2 separate regions of the Homo sapiens genome follow, and region 2 is linked to region 1. The links are contacts of gene promoters, found by promoter capture Hi-C in human tissues and cell types (Jung and others, 2019). All regions are on one chromosome and are shown on one strand. Each heading gives the region's core, a stretch centred on a gene start or on the middle of the fragment in contact. The rest is flanking DNA. Distances are from core to core; before and after follow the strand shown.

Evidence for each region. Contacts are between HindIII fragments. The study calls those that stand out against the background at their distance.
Region 2: a contact is called between a fragment that was not itself captured here and the fragment with the promoter of FAM131C in region 1, in 1 of the 25 tissues and cell types used here (pancreas).

Annotation. Positions count from the first base shown.
Region 1 is chr1:16,071,693-16,076,478 of GRCh38, reverse strand. FAM131C (family with sequence similarity 131 member C) reads left to right here and starts at 2,828. Exons shown (of 7, transcript NM_182623.3): 1 at 2,828-3,058. The coding sequence starts at 3,037. RefSeq lists an enhancer at 2,066-2,565 and a silencer at 2,774-2,933. The HindIII fragment of the contact is 22,024 bases long and covers 1-4,786 here.
Region 2 is chr1:16,117,414-16,122,199 of GRCh38, reverse strand. No RefSeq gene overlaps it. Among named protein-coding and RNA genes, the nearest start is that of EPHA2-AS1, 35 kb to the left of the region's middle. RefSeq lists enhancers at 1,539-2,095, 3,367-4,040. The HindIII fragment of the contact is 6,854 bases long and covers 1-4,786 here.

The DNA of each region.
Region 1 (4,786 bases), core at 1,579-4,078:
TGTGGAACTGACCAGCATGAACACCAGAGGCTGGAGAGCCAGATCTCCAGCCCAGCCACATCTCTGAGTGGGTCAGCAAGGGACCCTAGGTGGGGCCACTGCCTTGCCCTGCCCTCCTGTCCCTGGCTTAGGCTAAATGGGGCACAGTGGGGTGACCAGGCATCCTCTCCCCTGTGAGCTGCCCTGTCGTCTTCTCAAGTGTCCCTCTCCCTGTCCCATCTACCCCCAAAGCTGTCAGGCTGCCAGCAGGGAGCATCAGCTGCCATGACGGAGCATCCTGCGTCATAGTGAGTCAGAGCCCTCCTTCCAAGCCAGATCCAGTCACTCCGTGACAGGAAGAAGAGAAGGACACCACTGCCTTTACAAGCCCAGGCCACACAGGACGGGACCCCAGAGCCTGGCACAGGCAGATCCGCCTTTCCTTCTCCACACAAGGGCAGGCACACACCTGGCACCAGGGCATCCAAGGTGATAGCAGGCTGTCCTTTCTGAGCCACCCTCTCCAAGGCCAGACCTGGAGGGTACAGTTAGGGGGGCTCTGAGCAACTGTGACTGAATACAGCGCTGACTCAAGGATTGGCACATTTGTCTTGTTCACACTGGCACACAGTAGGTGCTTTATATGCATCTGTTGAACGGAAGTTCTCAGACTTCCCTGTGGCTGTCGGGAAGCTGTGGTGGAGTAATAACACATCATACCTGTTTGTGTTCACTATCACTATTATTTATTTTTAGTCCTAAGTTGAGTACCTACTACGTGCCAGTGATTTTGCATATATTAATTTCATCAGCCCTCACAGCAATCCCACGAGGTGGGATTTTTACCCTAAGTTAACAGATGAAAAATCTGAGACTCAGAGAGGCGAAGCAACTTACCCAAGGTCGCACAGCTTGTGTGAGCTAAGCCCTCATTCACCCAGGTCTGCTGACACCAGGGCCAGGCACAGAACCGCTCTCCACCCGGACTTTACTGGGCAGAGAGCACCTAGCTTAGAGAAAGAGAAAGAAGTCAGCACCCACTCCCTGGCTCAGCTGCTCTGGCAGTGCGCCCTGGCCCAGATCCTGCCCCTTGAGAGGCCTCCAGCCCTATCCCACGCTGCTGCCTCAAACCTTATTCATTCTTTTTTTTTTTTTTTTTTTTTTTTGAAACAGAGTCTCACTCTGCCGACCAGGCTGGAGTGTAGTGGCACGATTTCGGCTCACTGCAACCTCCACTTTCCCGGGTTCAAGCAATTCTCCTGCCTCAGCCTCCCGAGTAGCTGGGATTACAGGCTTGTGCCACCACACCTAGCTTTTTATTTATTTATTTATTTTGAGATGGAGTTTCTCTCTTGTAGCCCAGGCTGGAGTGCAGTGGCATGGTCTTGGCTCACTGTACCCTGGGTTCAAGCAACTCTCCTGCCTCAGCCTCCTGAGTAGCTGGGATTACAGGCGCCCACCACCACCATGCCTGGCTAATTTTTGTATTTTTAGTAGAGACGGGGTTTCACCATGTTGGCTAGGCTGGTCTCAAACTCCTGACCTCAGGTGATCCGCCCACCTCGGCCTCCCAAAGTGGTGTGATTACAGGCATGAACTACTGTGCCAAGCCCACACCCAGCTAATTTTTTATATTTTTGGTAGAGACGGAGTTTCACCATATTGGCCAGGCTGGTCTCGAACTCCTGACCTCAAGTGATCTGCCTGCCTTGGCCTCCCAAAGTGCTGGGATTACAGGCGTGGGCCACCGCGCCTGGCCCCTCCTTATTCATTCTTCAAAACATTTCTCTGCTGCCACCAGTGAACCTGGCTGCCTCAACTGGAAAACAGACACAAGAGTGCCTGCCCTGCCTGATGCACAGGTGGGCATGAAGGAGAGAGCGAGATGCTATGTGTGAGTGAGGGTCTCAGACACTGACATTGAGTGCTGTGTGCATGGGAAATTTTGCTAAAGGATCTTCACACCTCAGGAGCTGGGATGTGTGTGTGTGTGTGTGTGTGTAAATGCAAGCGTGCTTCAATGTGAGTGTATAACTGTCATTGTGTGGGTGTGAGTGGGTATGTACACATGGGAGACTGTGTATTCATGTGTAGGTATGTGAGTGTGTGTGCGTGTATGTAAATGCAAGTGTGCATATATATGTGTGTGTATGACCATCAGTGTGTGAATGAGGGGTATGTACACATGGGAGAGTGTGTGTGTAGGTACGTGCGAGTAAGTGTGAATGACTACAGAGGCCGTCCAGGGCTGGGGAAAAAAACCTGTGCCTCAGTTTACTCTGCCCTAGACAAGCCCTGAGAGGCAGCCTTGCCCCCCTCTTCAACCATCGCTGGAGACCCTTCATCCCGCCGCCAGGCCACCAGCGCACTATCTACCCGCACTCTCTCTACCCCACCTCTGGGCATATATTATTTTGCATATGTTAATTTCAATAGCTCTGAATGAGGCGCTGACAGTCAAAAGTCGCTGAACTCACAGCTTAGGGCTCTCAGGCAAGGCCTCTAACTTCTGCGAGCCTCACTTTCATCCTCTAAAAATAGGCCCAATGGAACTGTTGTTCTTGCGCGCACCCCTCCTCGCTCCCAAGCCTTCGTGCCCAGTCGTCGTTGGTGTGGTTAAATTCATGTTGTTTACTTTGTGCCCCAAATGCCAGGAGTCTCCCCGCCCCCTCTGTCCCCTTCCCTGACCTTCAGCCCGGGCAACCCCAGGAGGTGGGGGAGCCCCGAAGGGACAGAGATGGCCCTCCCGCGCGCTGCGGCCACAGGTGTGCCCGAGCCTCCCGGCTGCGCTCCCCCGGGCCCCGCCCGCCGCGCCCCGCGGTGTCGCCCTCCCCTGGCAGCGGCGGGCACTGCGCGGGAGGCGGCGGCGCGAGGCGAGCCGGGCGCGGCGGCAGCAGGGACGACCCAGGCTGGAGCTGAGGCCGAGCTGAGGGCGCCCGAGCCCCCCGCCCCGCCCGTCCTCTGGCTCCGCAGCGCTCAGCCCCGGGCCCGCGGAGACATGAACGCCCCGCGGCCCCACGCACCCCGGGCGCAGCGGCCCGGCCCCGCGGCCCCGTGATGGGCTCCTGCGTGTCGCGAGGTGAGGGGGCCCGGCCGGGGGCGGGGGGATCGGGTGCCGGGGACCCGCGCAGTCCCCTCGCCGCTCGGAGACCTGGGGGATGGGGCTGGCGACCCGCCCTTCACGGCCCCGCCGCACCCCTGGGGACGCGGCGTCCTGAGGGGGACAGAGCTAGGGACGGTAGGGGGCGGGGGCAGCGCAGAGAGCGCACGTGCAGAGGTCACCGCATCCCCGCCCCAGTTTGCAGCCCCGCAGGTGACACGAAGCAGGGTCCCGTGCCGTGCCGCGCTCTCATCCCTACAGCCACACACCCCCTGCCGGGTGCCTGGGAACCAGCTCTGGTTCTTCCTGGCTTCCCGGAGGAACTGCGGGCACCGGGAGAACTAGCAGACCCTCCCTTTCCCACCCCTCCCCAAGACACAGGTCTTACCAGCTCACCCCCACAGCCCCTTCCCACGTCTTACCGGGTGCCCCCATCTGCAGAGCCCCTGAACCCTGTTGGCAGGAAAGGGTTAATGGTGGGGCACAGGTTATAAAGAAGGTTCCCCTGCCCCCTAATCCTCCTCCCCACCCCCATCCTTGGACAGGGGACAGAAGGGCCAGAGCACAGCTGATGTTCCCAGTTACCCCTGGGCCTTTCTCTCTGTGTCTGACCTGTCACCCTCCACTCTCCCCCACGTGGTACCCAAGGAGGTGGAGGGGACCTGCCCTTGCCTGGGGGCCCAGGGCAGGCCCCAGCCTCTTCTATCTGTGAGGAGGGGACACACAGTCTTGCACAGAGATTGGGGGATGGGCAGTTTGGTCTTTGGAGCCCCCTACCTCCACCCCCACCCATCACCACCAGCTTTCCAACAGGCTGTTGGGCAACATTTTAGACAAGCGATTGGGCTGAGCCCTTCTCCCACCTTGGTCTGTTCACCCCACAGTGGGATCAGGGGGGTGTGACTGGGAGTGGGGGTGGCTTTGGCCTTGGTTCAGGCTCTGCAGGCTGAGGCCAAACCCACTGACCACCACCACACCCATCACCCCTAGTAGCTTACCCAGAATAGAGGGGACCTTGTCCTGGGGGTATTGAGCAAGGAGCACAATGACCTTCCCCCATCCTCTGGACTCGAAGGGCTTCTGCTCAGGAGTTCCTGTGGGCATTCAGGTAAGTGGCTCAGGATGTCTCTGGGAGGTATCGGGGTGGAATCCCGGCTGGGGAAGGGGAAGGTACAGGGTCAGGCTGTGTGGGGTTCCTTTACTTATCCATGCATTAAGCTGATATTAACATGATAGCTGCCGTGTGCCAGGCACCGTGTGCATGCTGGGCATCCAGCAGCAAGGAACCCAGCACAGCACCTGGTACGGGAGGCCTGCAGCCTAGCGGGAGGGGAAGGAAGTTTGAAGAGTGAGGAGTGCTGAGGGTTCTTTAGGAGCACCAGGCTCCAGAAACCCCAAAGGTTCTAGGCAGTCTCTGGCTGGGGCCAGCTCCAGGTGGAGGGGATCTGAGTGTTTCCTCAGTGTCCCTTCCCCTTCACTTGGCCACCCCATATCAGGCACCTTGGGGTCCCAGCCCAGAAGGACTGGCCTTTGAGCTGAGAACCCACTGAGCATGGGACAGAGGCCGGGGAGGAAGAGACGCCTGCTAAGGTCACCCTGAGAGGCTGGGGCCCAGGTCCTCTGACCCCACACCTGGGGCTCCCTCCACCGCCCCCTCTGCCAGGGCTCTTTGGGGCCACAGCAGCCAAGATACGCTCTCTCCACCCT
Region 2 (4,786 bases), core at 1,683-4,182, 46 kb before region 1:
AAATCCAGATCTGTCTCCTAGAGGGCCTAGATGCAGGAACACCCCTGTAGCAATAAGAACACCCAGCCCGCACATCTTGCTTCCTAAAAACCATTCTCCAATGAAAGGGACCAGGGCTCCTTAGAGAAATGGCTGATTCTGGGGCTGAAGCAGGGAAAATACAAGATGAGCTGGGAGCATCTTGGAGTATCAGAGAGTAAAGAAGTGCTCAAAAATAAACAGGTGGGGCTGTGCCAGAGACACACAGGAGCCAGCCCTAAAGAACTCCCAGGGCCTAAACCTAGAACAAGCTGAGCAACAAAACGATGAGGTATTAGATTAAATCCAAAGTCAAAAATAAATATTCACGAGTCTATACTGAGATAAATAAATGATTAAAGGCTGGGTGCAGTAGCTCACGCCTGTAATCCCAAAACTTTGAGAGGCCGAGGTGGGTGGATCGCTTGAGCTCAGGAGTTTGAGATCAGCCTGGCCAAGATGGCGAAACCCCGTCTCTATCAAAAATACAAAAAATTAACCAGGCATGGTGGCACGTGCCTATGGTCCCAGCTACTCAGGAGGATGAAACGGGAGGATCGCCTGAGCCTGGGAGGTGGAGGTTGCAGTGAGCCGAGATTGTGCCACTGCACTTCAGCCTGGGCAACAGAGTGAGACCTCATCTCAAAAAATAAAAAAAAAAAAATGCTTGAATAAATAAATAAGTGGAGGGAGCCTAGACAAATCTTCCTTACAGATGAATTTCAAAGGGGTGGATTCTTTTCCCTCTAGTGGGTAAAGCTTACTTCCCCACTGCCTGGACTGCGGACTGGACACCCTTCCAAAGAAAGGCAGTAGGGAGGTATAGAAAGGGTTAAAAAAAATAAGAAAGAAAACAAAAAGTAACTTTACAGTGGAGAAACCTGGCAAACACCACCGTAACCAAGTGATCAAAGTTAATATCATCAGAGAAAAAACAAACAAACCAACATTGAGCTTGAATTGAAGATCAGGTATCAGCAAACACTTACACAAGGCTTTCTGGGCACCACCCACTGTTCTAAGCACTTAGCCTGTGTTTACTTATTTCATTCTTCCAACAGTCCTTCAAGGTAGATGCTATTAATATCCCATTTTACAGATTTGAACACCGAGGGGAGGGAGGTTACATAACTGGCCAGAGCCGCCCTCTCCCCTCTCTGCCATCATGGACACTTCCCTAGATAAGGTCTGAGAAGCACTGGTTCTGGGGAAACTGAGGCAACATAACCTGCCCATGGTCTCCAAATGCCACCACATCCCACACCCCAGGTATCTAGATAGTTTGCTGCTCTGTCCCTTCTCTCAGTGGCCAGTTCCTGCTCTATGCCAGGCTGGGCACAAGGTCACAAAGATGGATAAGGGCCCTGTCTGCCCTCATGGGACTCAGTCTGGTGGGGGCAGCAATGGTAATAGAGTAGGACCCAGGCTAAGAAGGGGCAGAGCTGGGTGTTACAGGAGCCAGAGGTTGGGGCAGGGATGGGGGAGGGGCACTTGACCCAGCCTAGAAAGTCCAGGCAGGCTGCTTGGAGGAGGAGCCATCCAAGCTGAGGTGGAGGTCAAGTGAGAGTCCACCAGGCGGAGGAAGAAGTGTCCCAGAAGAGCCTGGCTCTGACTCCAGACCTCTGTGGGTGGGGCTTGAGTCTCCCCTCCAACATCTGGGCCCCATTTGACCAAGACAAGATTCCTCCATCTGCTATGCCACCCTAACCCCTGGCTGTTGTGTCAGGAGCAGCTGTAGGACAGCAGCCCTGCCCTCATTCCCACCCCTAGCAGAACCTTCATCTCTGATTTTAGCCTTCTCTGCTGAGAAGTGGGCCTGCAGCCCTTTCTGGGTTCTGAGCTGCAGGGACCTTGGTGGGCCTTTGATGCATCCAGCAAAGCCCTGAAGGAGGTGAAGGCAGTGGTGACTGGGGCATTGGGTAGGGAGATGCCTGCTTTCTCTGCTGCTCCCAGTCTGCATGGCAAGTTAAAATCGTGTCGCCAGGCACCAGCCCGAGATTTCCTAATTAATTAGCAAATTCTGGAGGGACAGGCAAGCTCTCTGCTCGCCTCCCCATTCACACCCCCTCAGCTCCAGCTGCAGCCCAGGGCCTGGGATGGGGCCTTGGGCACCATAGATGCTGCTAGAACAGGGGGCAAATGAATGTGTACGGGAAGTGCTTGAGTCCTTAGCTCCGGCCCTCTGTGCCTTTGCCCATTCTGTGCATCGCGCCTGCATCGTCCCTCCCCGGAACTATGTCTGGTACCCAGTAGGCCCTCAATAAACATTTGTTCAATAAACAAATGAACTGTGGGGGACAAGGACTGGGCTTTTGAGATCCAAGAGCCCTGTGGAGCTGGATATGGGTTTTGGGAATGTGGTGAGTGCTGTGCAATGGTCCTGGGCTCCCTCTGGCTGGCCGGGAGGGACCACAAAAGCTGGTAAGGAGAAGCAGTTGAATGTTTCTGAACACCTACCATTGTAGGTGGTGGGCGTTCCTCTAGCATTGCCTGTTCCTAGAGGAGTTGCTAATTAATTAGGAAATCTAAGGCTGGTGCCTGGCGACACGGTTTTAACTTGCCACGGTGCCAGTGAGTGTGCCATGCCAGTGATCATGCCCAGCCCAAGACCCACACCGTCTTATGCAAGGGTCACAATGACCCTGAGGGGCATACATTTATCCCCATTTTGGGGACCCTGGGGCTCAGCGAGGTTACAGTAATCAGACCAAGTTCCCACAGCTAGGAGGTGACAAAGCGGCATAGGAGACAAGAGTCAGCTCATCCCACTGCCTGCTGCTCGGTGACATTTGGGGACCTTGGGGTTCTTTTCAGGAAACGGCAGGAAGACCCTTGGACTGGGAAGGGAAGACAGAGGTTCTGTTGGGCGCCTACTATTGACTTGGCTGTGGACTCCTGGGCATGTCCCTTGTGTCACGGGGGCTCAGTTTGTCCGTCTGTAGTGAGGAAGGCTCCAGGAAGTCTGTCCTGGCTGAGATGAGGGGCCCCTGCCCCCACCACAGAGTTGCCCCCTCCCCACTCCTGGCACCCTCTCCCCAGGCAGCCCTGGGCAGCCCCAGGTAGCCCGGCCAGCAGGCCCCACTCCAGCCCTCTGGGTCTGGCTTTCCAGTCCAAACCGTCAGCCAGTCTCTGTCGGCAGAACCAGACCCAGTTTCTGGGAAGCTGCAGCCACATCCCACCCCTGCCTGGGGTGGGGGCCCCCTTTCTCCTGCTGGGCCCGGGCCCCATTTCAGCAGCCTCATCACATTCCCCACGGCCTCAGCAGCCTGATGGATGGATGGATGCAGCTTCCACACTGGGCTGGCAGAGCAGGCGGCTGCATGATCAGGTCTCCTGCTGGGCGGAGGGGCCTTTCCCCCAGGACCAGGCCTCATGGGCCCGGCCAACCAATCCCAGCATCTGGGCACAGGACACACTTCCCCAGACTCTGCACCCCTCCCCTGTACTCTAATGCGGTCTAGACTCCCGGACCTGCCCTCAGTTCCCCATGAGCCCTCGCCCACCCCCGCACACATCCCTCCCTATTTCTGTCTGTGGAAAATACACCCACCCTTCCAGGCTCAAATCAAATCACCCATTTTCCAAGAGACCTTTGCAGGCCAGGTGTGGTGGGTTACGTCTGTAATCCCAGCACTTTGGGAGGCCGAGGTGGGTGGATCTTCTGAGGTGGGGAGTTCGAGACCAGCCTGGCCAACATGGTGAAACATTGTCTCCACTAAAAATACAAAAGTTAGCTGGGCGTGGAGGCGCATGCCTGTAATTGTAGCTACTCAGGAGGCTGCGGTAGGAGAATCGGAGAATCGCTTGAACCCAGGAGGTGGAGGTTACAGTGAGCCAAGATCATGTCACTGCACTCCAGCCTGGGCAACAAGAGCGAGTCTCCATTTCAAAAAAAAGAGAGAGAGACTTTTGCAGAGCCCGCTCTGCTGCCAGGCAATGGGGACACATTAACCCTGCCTCCCTCAGGCTCCTATCGTGGCCGGCTGTGGATCACAGAGGGCTTGAATGACACTCAGGTGTGTCTGTCTGGCCCTCTCCTCTGAGCTTGTGTGTGTGTGTGTGTGTGTGTGTGCACGCGTATGTAATAAAATGCCAATAGCTAATAATTATTAAGCGCATTGCATGTGCTGCCACTGTTCAAAGTGTTTCCCAAGGATTAACTCATTTAATCCTCCCAAAAACTCTGTGACCTAGTCCTACTACTGCCCCATAAGCTGGGGGCCATATCTCCCGTCTGTCCAGGACAGTCCTGGCTTTGGCCTGTTGTCCTGGTATAATTGGTTGTAATAGCTCCCCCTTTCGCCTTCTGTCTTTAAGTGGACAATAATTGATCCAGTCACCCTATCATGAAGCGCAGAGAAGTGAAGGGTTTGCCCAGAGCTCCACAGCTAGCAAGTGGCAGCGCCAAGGTTCGAGCCCAGCCCCTTGCCACAGGGCTTTGCTCTAAGCTATCGGTGAATTTCCCAGTGAGTGAGCCTAGGTCTCCTTGTGCTTTTCTCTCGACCCTCCTTTTATTTTACAAGATTCTTTTTGTTGTTGTTTTTTATTTTTTCCATTTTATCACATCTGACTCAGTCTCTACACAAGATTCTTGAGGTCTGCTGAATGCCACCCACTGCCTGGAGCTCTTCCCCACATCCTCAGCACGATCTTACCAGCTCGTGAGTAACACCCTGGAAGAGGGTGCCCCCATCACTCATTTTTTTTTTTTTTTTTTTGAGAGGGAGTCTCACTCTATTGCCAGGCTAGAGTGCAGTGGCGCGATCTT